3 separate regions of the Homo sapiens genome follow, and regions 1 and 3 are each linked to region 2. The links are contacts of gene promoters, found by promoter capture Hi-C in blood cells and fetal thymus (Javierre and others, 2016). All regions are on one chromosome and are shown on one strand. The core of a region is centred on a gene start or on the middle of the fragment in contact, and the rest is flanking DNA. Distances in the headings are between cores, read along the strand shown. Region 1 overlaps NCOA3 (nuclear receptor coactivator 3). Region 2 holds the start of CSE1L (chromosome segregation 1 like). Region 3 overlaps ZMYND8 (zinc finger MYND-type containing 8).

Evidence for each region. The method cuts DNA at HindIII sites, captures the fragments that hold promoters and counts their contacts. A CHiCAGO score of 5 or more calls a contact.
Region 1: a fragment that was not itself captured here is called in contact with the fragment with the promoter of CSE1L in region 2 in 1 of 17 cell types (naive B cells); the score reaches 8.1 in naive B cells.
Region 3: a fragment that was not itself captured here is called in contact with the fragment with the promoter of CSE1L in region 2 in 1 of 17 cell types (naive B cells); the score reaches 5.8 in naive B cells.

What each region holds. Positions count from the first base shown.
Region 1 is chr20:47,652,770-47,656,228 of GRCh38, forward strand. It overlaps NCOA3 (nuclear receptor coactivator 3), which reads left to right. Exons shown (of 23, transcript NM_181659.3): 22 at 162-303; 23 at 637-3,459. The coding sequence ends at 648. Among named protein-coding and RNA genes, the nearest start is that of SULF2, 130 kb to the right of the region's middle. The HindIII fragment of the contact is 7,144 bases long and covers 1-3,459 here.
Region 2 is chr20:49,044,294-49,047,648 of GRCh38, forward strand. CSE1L (chromosome segregation 1 like) reads left to right here and starts at 2,019. Exons shown (of 25, transcript NM_001316.4): 1 at 2,019-2,130. CSE1L-DT (CSE1L divergent transcript) reads right to left here and starts at 1,763. Exons shown (of 2, transcript NR_110625.1): 1 at 1,567-1,763. RefSeq lists enhancers at 1,642-1,791, 2,342-2,411, 2,377-3,017. The HindIII fragment of the contact is 3,278 bases long and covers 1,410-3,355 here.
Region 3 is chr20:47,244,199-47,247,285 of GRCh38, forward strand. It overlaps ZMYND8 (zinc finger MYND-type containing 8), which reads right to left. Exons shown (of 23, transcript NM_001281775.3): 14 at 1,810-2,319. Among named protein-coding and RNA genes, the nearest start is that of MIR3616, 79 kb to the left of the region's middle. The HindIII fragment of the contact is 4,630 bases long and covers 1-3,087 here.

The DNA.
Region 1 (3,459 bases), core at 884-3,383, 1.4 Mb before region 2:
AGAAAGCTGTGAAAAATGGATCACAGGCTGTCAGGGAGTTTTCTCTAACATTCCCAGCTTAAGTATAGCAATGTTTGACACAATTGTAGTAATTTCTGTGGGCATGCCCTTTGTCGCTAAAGTGACTTCCAGAGGTAATATTACCATTTGTTTACTTACAGCTCCTTTTCCCAGCAGCAGTTTGCCCACCAGGGGAATCCTGCAGTGTATAGTATGGTGCACATGAATGGCAGCAGTGGTCACATGGGACAGATGAACATGAACCCCATGCCCATGTCTGGCATGCCTATGGGTCCTGATCAGGTATGGGATCGATTCCTTACCTTTTTCAAAAAGTTTTTCTTGTTCTCTGGATAGAACTAAAGCCTAGGCTATAATCAGAATGTCCTAGGTATATTTTAACTTGAATGTATAACTTAAAATATAGTAATTGAAAAAACTTGGTTTGAAGGCATTGGGCCATTAGATACTTTTGGTAAGCCAGAGCTGCATTGTAAGATGGGATCTCAGGAACCTGAATCACTCAGCCAGAGCTGCACTGTAAGCCATGAATGTGGACATGGGTATTTTTTTGTTGTGCAAAGCATGTGTTTTACTCATTTTTTTTTTTTTTTTTTTTTTCCTGGTTGCTGACAGAAATACTGCTGACATCTCTGCACCAGGACCTCTTAAGGAAACCACTGTACAAATGACACTGCACTAGGATTATTGGGAAGGAATCATTGTTCCAGGCATCCATCTTGGAAGAAAGGACCAGCTTTGAGCTCCATCAAGGGTATTTTAAGTGATGTCATTTGAGCAGGACTGGATTTTAAGCCGAAGGGCAATATCTACGTGTTTTTCCCCCCTCCTTCTGCTGTGTATCATGGTGTTCAAAACAGAAATGTTTTTTGGCATTCCACCTCCTAGGGATATAATTCTGGAGACATGGAGTGTTACTGATCATAAAACTTTTGTGTCACTTTTTTCTGCCTTGCTAGCCAAAATCTCTTAAATACACGTAGGTGGGCCAGAGAACATTGGAAGAATCAAGAGAGATTAGAATATCTGGTTTCTCTAGTTGCAGTATTGGACAAAGAGCATAGTCCCAGCCTTCAGGTGTAGTAGTTCTGTGTTGACCCTTTGTCCAGTGGAATTGGTGATTCTGAATTGTCCTTTACTAATGGTGTTGAGTTGCTCTGTCCCTATTATTTGCCCTAGGCTTTCTCCTAATGAAGGTTTTCATTTGCCATTCATGTCCTGTAATACTTCACCTCCAGGAACTGTCATGGATGTCCAAATGGCTTTGCAGAAAGGAAATGAGATGACAGTATTTAATCGCAGCAGTAGCAAACTTTTCACATGCTAATGTGCAGCTGAGTGCACTTTATTTAAAAAGAATGGATAAATGCAATATTCTTGAGGTCTTGAGGGAATAGTGAAACACATTCCTGGTTTTTGCCTACACTTACGTGTTAGACAAGAACTATGATTTTTTTTTTTAAAGTACTGGTGTCACCCTTTGCCTATATGGTAGAGCAATAATGCTTTTTAAAAATAAACTTCTGAAAACCCAAGGCCAGGTACTGCATTCTGAATCAGAATCTCGCAGTGTTTCTGTGAATAGATTTTTTTGTAAATATGACCTTTAAGATATTGTATTATGTAAAATATGTATATACCTTTTTTTGTAGGTCACAACAACTCATTTTTACAGAGTTTGTGAAGCTAAATATTTAACATTGTTGATTTCAGTAAGCTGTGTGGTGAGGCTACCAGTGGAAGAGACATCCCTTGACTTTTGTGGCCTGGGGGAGGGGTAGTGCTCCACAGCTTTTCCTTCCCCACCCCCCAGCCTTAGATGCCTCGCTCTTTTCAATCTCTTAATCTAAATGCTTTTTAAAGAGATTATTTGTTTAGATGTAGGCATTTTAATTTTTTAAAAATTCCTCTACCAGAACTAAGCACTTTGTTAATTTGGGGGGAAAGAATAGATATGGGGAAATAAACTTAAAAAAAAATCAGGAATTTAAAAAAACGAGCAATTTGAAGAGAATCTTTTGGATTTTAAGCAGTCCGAAATAATAGCAATTCATGGGCTGTGTGTGTGTGTGTATGTGTGTGTGTGTGTGTGTATGTTTAATTATGTTACCTTTTCATCCCCTTTAGGAGCGTTTTCAGATTTTGGTTGCTAAGACCTGAATCCCATATTGAGATCTCGAGTAGAATCCTTGGTGTGGTTTCTGGTGTCTGCTCAGCTGTCCCCTCATTCTACTAATGTGATGCTTTCATTATGTCCCTGTGGATTAGAATAGTGTCAGTTATTTCTTAAGTAACTCAGTACCCAGAACAGCCAGTTTTACTGTGATTCAGAGCCACAGTCTAACTGAGCACCTTTTAAACCCCTCCCTCTTCTGCCCCCTACCACTTTTCTGCTGTTGCCTCTCTTTGACACCTGTTTTAGTCAGTTGGGAGGAAGGGAAAAATCAAGTTTAATTCCCTTTATCTGGGTTAATTCATTTGGTTCAAATAGTTGACGGAATTGGGTTTCTGAATGTCTGTGAATTTCAGAGGTCTCTGCTAGCCTTGGTATCATTTTCTAGCAATAACTGAGAGCCAGTTAATTTTAAGAATTTCACACATTTAGCCAATCTTTCTAGATGTCTCTGAAGGTAAGATCATTTAATATCTTTGATATGCTTACGAGTAAGTGAATCCTGATTATTTCCAGACCCACCACCAGAGTGGATCTTATTTTCAAAGCAGTATAGACAATTATGAGTTTGCCCTCTTTCCCCTACCAAGTTCAAAATATATCTAAGAAAGATTGTAAATCCGAAAACTTCCATTGTAGTGGCCTGTGCTTTTCAGATAGTATACTCTCCTGTTTGGAGACAGAGGAAGAACCAGGTCAGTCTGTCTCTTTTTCAGCTCAATTGTATCTGACCCTTCTTTAAGTTATGTGTGTGGGGAGAAATAGAATGGTGCTCTTATCTTTCTTGACTTTAAAAAAATTATTAAAAACAAAAAAAAAATAAATTTTTTTGCAATCCTTTCCTCAGACCTGGCTCCAGGCTAACTGGAAGGCAGCACTCCCTTTTTTATATAGTAGAAAAATGAAGTTTATTATAAGTTTTTATATTTTCTACTTGTTCATTTGGTGCAAACTCAAGATTTCTTTTAATAGGTGCAGTCTTTGAGATAATTTGTTTTTACCTGTATTGCCCTTTATCTTTTTTAGGTAATTCTTTGTACTCCTGCTGTCTACCTCTCCTCACACCCCAGCACCCCCCATTTTTTCAAACCTTGGTATCTGTTGGGTGAACAGTATAATCTTTTCATCTGCTTTTAGAATGTGGGATATTTCCAGTACCTACTTTTTTTTTTTTTTTTTGCTGAATCCAAAGATATATAAATAAAATATATATATTTTATAAAGATCAGAATGATATAAAGGAGATACATGTTTCTTCCTTTAAA
Region 2 (3,355 bases), core at 769-3,268:
ATGGGGCTAGATGTGGTGGCTCACACCTGTAATCCCGGGGCTTTTTTTTTTTTTGAGATGGAGTTTCGCTCTTGTTGCCCAGGCTGGAGTGCAATGGCAAGATCTCAGCTCACCGCAACCTCTGCCTCCCGGGTTCAAACGACTCTCCTGCCTCAGCCTCCCAAGTAGCTGGGATTGCAGACGTGCGCCACCACACCCGGCTAATTTTGTATTTTTAGTAGAGACGGGGTTTCTCCATGTTGGTCAGGTCTCAAACTCCCAATCTCAGGTGATCTGCCTGCCTCGGTCTCCCAAATCACTGGGATTACCGGCGTGAGCCACCATGCCCAGCCCTATCCCAGTGCTTTAGGAGGCGGAGGTGGGAGGATCACTTGAGGCCAGGAGTTTGCCTGGGCAACATAGTGAGAGCTCATCTCTACAAAAAAATTCAAAATTAGCCAGGTGTGGTGGCAGGTGCCTGTAGTCCTAGCTACTCAGGAGGCTGAGGTGGGAGGATTGCTTTAGCCTAGGAGGTCGAGGTTGCAATGAGCTATGATTGTGCCATTGCACTGCAGCCTGGGTGACAGAGCAAGACCCTGCCTCTTAAAAGAAAAAAAAAAAAAAAAAAAAAGCCCTGGCCAGGCGTGGTGGCTCATGCCTGTAATCCCAGCACTTTGGGAGGCCAAGGCTGGCGGATCACAAGGTCAGGAGTTCAAGATCAGCCTGGCCAATATGGTGAAACCCCGTGTCTACTAAAAATACAAAAATCAGCGGGGCATGGTGGCGGGCACCTGTAGTCCCAGTAACTTGGGGGGCTGAGTCAGGAAAATTGCTTGAACCTGGGAGGCAGAGGTTGCAGTGAGCTGTGACAGCACCACTGCACTCCAGCCCTCCAGCCTGGGCGACAGAGCAAGACTCTGTCTTTAAAAAAAAAAAAAAAAAAGAAAAGCCCTTGCTGTATAGAATCCCTTAGGTTATGGATGGGGAGGAGGGCAGGGGTTTAGGAGGGGAGAAGCGGAAGGAGGAACAAAATAAAGAAGAGACAATTAGTTGGAGAGTGATAAATACCATAATGATATCATGGAACTAGGCTTACCAGATCAAACACTGGGCACCCAGTTCAATGTGAATTTCAGATAAGCAATGCATGATTTTTAAGTATAAATATGTCCTACACAGTATTTATACTAGAAAATTATAAATTTTTTTCTAAAATTTACATTGACCTGGGCAGCCTGCATTTTATTTGCTAAACCTGGCAACCCTAATTTGTGTGCTGGGTGGTGGTGAGTGGGCAATTTCAGATAGGCCTCTTTTGTGGAGGTGACATTTGAGCTGGAACCTAAATGTAAAGAAGGAGCCAATCATTCAGGAATCTAGAACATCCCAGCACAGGGAACAGCAAGTATAAATGCTCTAAAGTGGAAATAAGCTTGGAGCTTAGAGGAACAGGAAGAAGGTGGGGTGGCGGAGCTGAGTGAGGGTGAGGAGAGGAGGGAAGCGGAAGGTGATGAGGGCAGGCAGGCTGGCAGGGGCCAGATCCCATATGGTTTGTGGGCTGTAATAAGAGTACCAAAACTTACATACCAGGCCAGGCGCGGTGGCTCACGCCTGGAATCCCAGCATTTTGGGAGGCCAAGGTGTGCGGATCACTTGAGGCCAGGAGTTCGAGACCTGTCTGGCCGTGTCTCCCTCTAAAATAGAAGCTCCAAGAGGGGCAGGAAGTTCTCTTCCGTCTTAGACCCTATGTGCACGACCTTGGATCGATCAACATTGAACACCTCCTACGTGCCAAGCCCTGACATCAAAATGGGTCAGAAGCCAGCAGCCGCTCGCTGAATCTGTGTTCCTCTTTGGAAAACGAGAACCGTGAAGCCTGCTGGCATGGTCAGAGCCAAAGAGCATTGTCACTTGTGAGATCAGCGCAGAAACAGAGCGGGGCCCCGATTGGCCCTTCGAACTTGGGTGGGGCCAGAGCATTCCTGGCCCCGCCCCCTGCAGCGGGCCGCTCGCTCATGCGCTCTGGCCTCAGGCTCGCTGTCGCGCCATTTTGCCGGGGTTTGAATGTGAGGCGGAGCGGCGGCAGGAGCGGGTAGTGCCAGCTACGGTCCGCGGCTGGGGTTCCCTCCTCCGTTTCTGTATCCCCACGAGGTGAGGCGCGGGGCGTGCACGGCCTACCAGAGTGGCTCTTGGGGCCCAGCTGAGGAAGGGATGAGGCGCTCCCGGTACTAACGAGCGCTAGGGAGTGAGAACCGCGCCTCTGGGCGAGAGCGGAATGTGGGCCCGGGGTTCGGGTGGTGCGCTCAGGCAAGGTCTTCGGCTTCCCTAGGGAGCGCTTGCCGCGCCTCGCGGCATCCTAGGTCTCTGGCCCAGGTGCGGCGACCCCAGGGCCTGTGAGGGCTGAGGGCAACTGAGGCGCGGCCTAACGCGAGCCTGCGGATTGCCCGCCCTTTCCTCTCCATCACGGCGCTGATTGGCTGCGCCGCCGCCTCTCCGCTCGGGAAGGCCGCTCCTTATTGGTCGCGCTCGCATGTCCATTCTCTGCGACGGTGGCTGCTAGCCGCGCGAGCTGAGTGTGCGGCGGCGAGGCCTGCCCGGGCGGGGACTGCGGGCGCGTGGAGCTGCGGCTGCCTCGCGTCGTCCCTTGCCCTAACTCTAGTGAAGCCCCCGAACTCACCCTTCTCTAACCTCTGTACTTGTATCCCTGACTGTAAAACGGGCATCGTGATCTCACTTTGCTGAATTGTTTGTGAGAATTCTAGTCGGTACACCCGGGACATAGAAATCCCCTGTAACGCGGGTTGGGGGAGGGTTCCCTCGTTTTGGGAGAAACGCTGTGCTGTGGTGGTTCGGAGCATAGACTTTGGAATTAGATCGCCTGGGTTCATTCCAGACGTAGCCTCTCGTTAGGGGTGTAACTTGAGGCTGGTCACCTCATCTCACTGAGCCTCCATTTCCTTAGCTGCAAAATGGGGTTAATAACAGAATCTACCTCGGAAAGTGGCTTTGAGGATGCGCTGAGTTATTTACCGTGGTTTACAAAGGTTCCCTGGGAGCTGACGGTTGTTTATTCATCTCTCCCACCCATCTTTCTCCTTAGCCAGTGTGGCTTTCTGTTTCTTCCATATTCCAGGGTTATTCCGATTTAAAATTATTTGCACATGCCTTTTGTTTGCTGGGGAAGTACCAACATTTTTGCAAGGCAGGCCGCCTCTCCCAAGTTTCCCTCACCTTAGGCCTCCCCTAACCAACCTCTTCTTTTGTTTTCTTTTTCTTTTTCTTTTCTCTTTTCTTTTTTTTTTTTTTTTTTTTTTTTTTTTGAGAGAGAGAGTCTCGCTCTGCCTCCCAGGCTGGAGTGCAGTGGCGCGATCTCGAC
Region 3 (3,087 bases), core at 293-2,792, 1.8 Mb before region 2:
TCTTATTCAAGGGTTTCATTGACAAGTTAGCTCCTGATAGAAGTTAGGCACAGTCAAGATTTAAACCTGGCTATCCCTTAAGTCACTCGCCACATACATAAGGTTTTATGGCTACAACCTGTAATTTGTCCTGGGGCAATGTTTCTTCTGGGCCCTTAGTTAATTCTTCAGTATCTTTATTGAGCATGTTGAATCCTCTAACCTAATTGCCAAGCCAACTCAAAAATGTGCTGAATACTTTGTCAGTGGGAAGGACATCCTTCCAATCATTCCCACACCCCTTTTGTTGGGCTTGTTAACATGCCCAGGCTGCACTAGGCTGTGGGGTAGTCACTGCTGGTTCAGAATATAACCGTAGCCTCTGAGACTCAGGGGATATTTGGCAATATTTGATTGCCACATTTGTGACTGCCACAACTGAGCAAGTAAGGTTGCCATCTGGCTGGTAGAGGCCAGGGATGCTGGAAAACATCCTCCAATACACAGGACTAAGAATTAGCCAGGGCAAACTGTCAGAAGTGCAAGGTTGTGAAACTCTGAGCTAAGTTAAATGCAAATAAGATTAAAAGCCAGTAAGGCCAGACGCAGTAGCTCATGCCTGTAATCCCAGCACTTTAGGAGGCCGAGCTGGGTGGCTCACCTGAGGTCAGGAGTTTGAGACCAGCCTGGCCAACATGGTGAAACCCTGTTTCTACTAAAAATACAAAAATTAGCCAGGCGTGGTGGCAGGTGCCTGTAATCCCAGTTACTTGGGAGGCTGAGGGAGGAGAATCACTTGAACCCGGGAGGCGGAGGTTGCAGTCAGCCGAGATTGTACCATTGTACTCCAGCCTGGGCGACAAGAGCCAAATTCTGTCCGCCCCCCCTCCCCAAAAAAGCCAATACACATATCCACCATACTCCATTTTCTAGTGCCCTAAGAAGCACTCAGTATTCTGGCACCAATCACCCAAATACTGTCCTACTACTGTAAGAAAATACACTTGGAGATGCCTAGGTGGCATGAGGGGAGGAAAGCAAAGCTGAAATCATCAAAACCTTTGAAATGAACACTGCTTTTTTTTTAGAGAGGGAGTCTTGCTCTGCCACCCACACTGGAGTGCAGTGGCGCAATCTCAGCTCACTGCAACCTCCGCCTCCTGGGTTCAAGCGATTATCCTGCCTCCGCCTCACGAGTAGCTGGGATTACAGGCGCCTGCTACCACGCCCCGCTAATTTTTGTATTTTAGTAGAGACAGGGTTTCACTATGTAGGTCAAGCTGGTTTTGAACTCCTGACCTCAAATGATCCACCCGCCTCGGCCTCCCCAAGTGCTGGGATTACAGGCGTGAGCCACCATGCCCAGCTTGAAATGAACACTCCTAACCGTTTGAGACTTGTCAAAAGAGAATGAGATGTCTGTGGAATGCAGCACTGAAGGACCATTTGACAAGATCCAAATGTTAACAAACACTTTGGGGAAATAAATGAGCATATTGGAAAAGAAGCTGCTCAGACTAAAAATGACTTGGTCACTAAAAGTAACCATCATTTTCTAACAGACTTCTCTTTCTGTACTCAAAATCAATCATACTGGATACCGAGCAGGTTAAAGGTAGGCAGGCCCATGTTTGAGTCCAGGTCCTGTTCTATGACTAGCTAGGCAACCTTAAACCAAACACAGCTTCACTGTGCCTCTCTCTCAGTGTGTTAGAGGGTCACATAACTTCTGATTTGTTTCTTTAAGGGTCACATAACTTTTGATAGTAAGTGTACGAGGTAGGATTCTAAACCAAATTAAGAAAACTGGAAACAGATACAATCACTTACCATCCTGTTTGGGAGATGGTTCTTTGGGTTCCTTCTTATTTTTTCGACCCTCCCGCCCAGAATGGTCTTCTCCTAAATCTATGACAAGTTCGCTCTCTGAATCAGAGTCCAGGCCCAAATGGACTGTTGGGGAATCCGTCTCATCTTTTCCCTTCAGTTTATCCTTTATGGGGTGAGGTGAAGGTTTTGCCTTTTCGGAAAAGTCCTTCTCAGGCTCAGGGCTGGCCTTGTCCTTGACTGCTCCAGGGTCTGCCTTCTCGCTGGCTGGTGACGTGCTTTTCAGCTCCTCTTTAATCTCCACTGGGTTTGTAGGCTTGGGCTTTTTTTTAACAGCAGATGGCTCTTTGTCCATCTGACAACCTTCTTTGTCCTCTGTGTCTTCTGGCTCGTTCTTAGACTTCTGCTCATCATCACTGATATACTCACTATCGCTACTATCTGACTTCTCAGAATCCTCCGAATCGCTGTGCTCTACGGCCGTATAGACATCTTCCGAGATTTCATTTATGCCTAAATTCAAAAAGAAAACCCAGCATGTGGCGTAGTCACAAAATAAAGAGCAGGATGAAAAATGCAAACATTTTTCCACACCAAATGCTGGAATAAGAAAAGCACGTTTCAAATCGCATCACATTGGCCTAAATGGGGCCAGTAATAATCTCAAGTGGCAACTGGCTACGGCTGCCAAGTGGTACTTGCCTTGGGAGAGGGTTTTGGTTGTTAGGAGACACAGGACCTACCAACGGAGATTTTAAATTTATATGGCACTAAACATGTGGTGCCAAATTTTTGCAACGTTGATAACTAATTGGGATTATTGAGAATGAAGAGGGCTGGAAGGGAACAGCAGGGACAAGCTGTTCAAACTGATCCAATTTACAGATTAGAAAACAGAGGCCCAGGGATATCACCTGCCCTAGGACACAAGACAGAGGCCAGGCCAGAACCCCGGGTTCCTGGCTCCCCACCAACACTCTTCCCTTGGGTTTCCAAAGGGTTAAAGTTCTTGATCCTTTGTGTCTAGGCCAAAGAAAATAAGCCAAAGCCTTAAAGCAGAGGTTGCAAACAGCCCACAAGCCACATCTAGCTTGCAGACATGTTTCATGCGAGAGGCACTGGTTTGGCCCACAGGGTATCTTGTCTGCTTTTAATTTATAAATGTGTTGTCCAACTCACAAATCAGGAAATTTCATATAGAAATCAAAGCAGGGGCTTCTGATGAAAGAGCGGAAAATCTAGCCGCTCTGGGTCACCAGCCTGCCAGGCATTGGCTGGAAC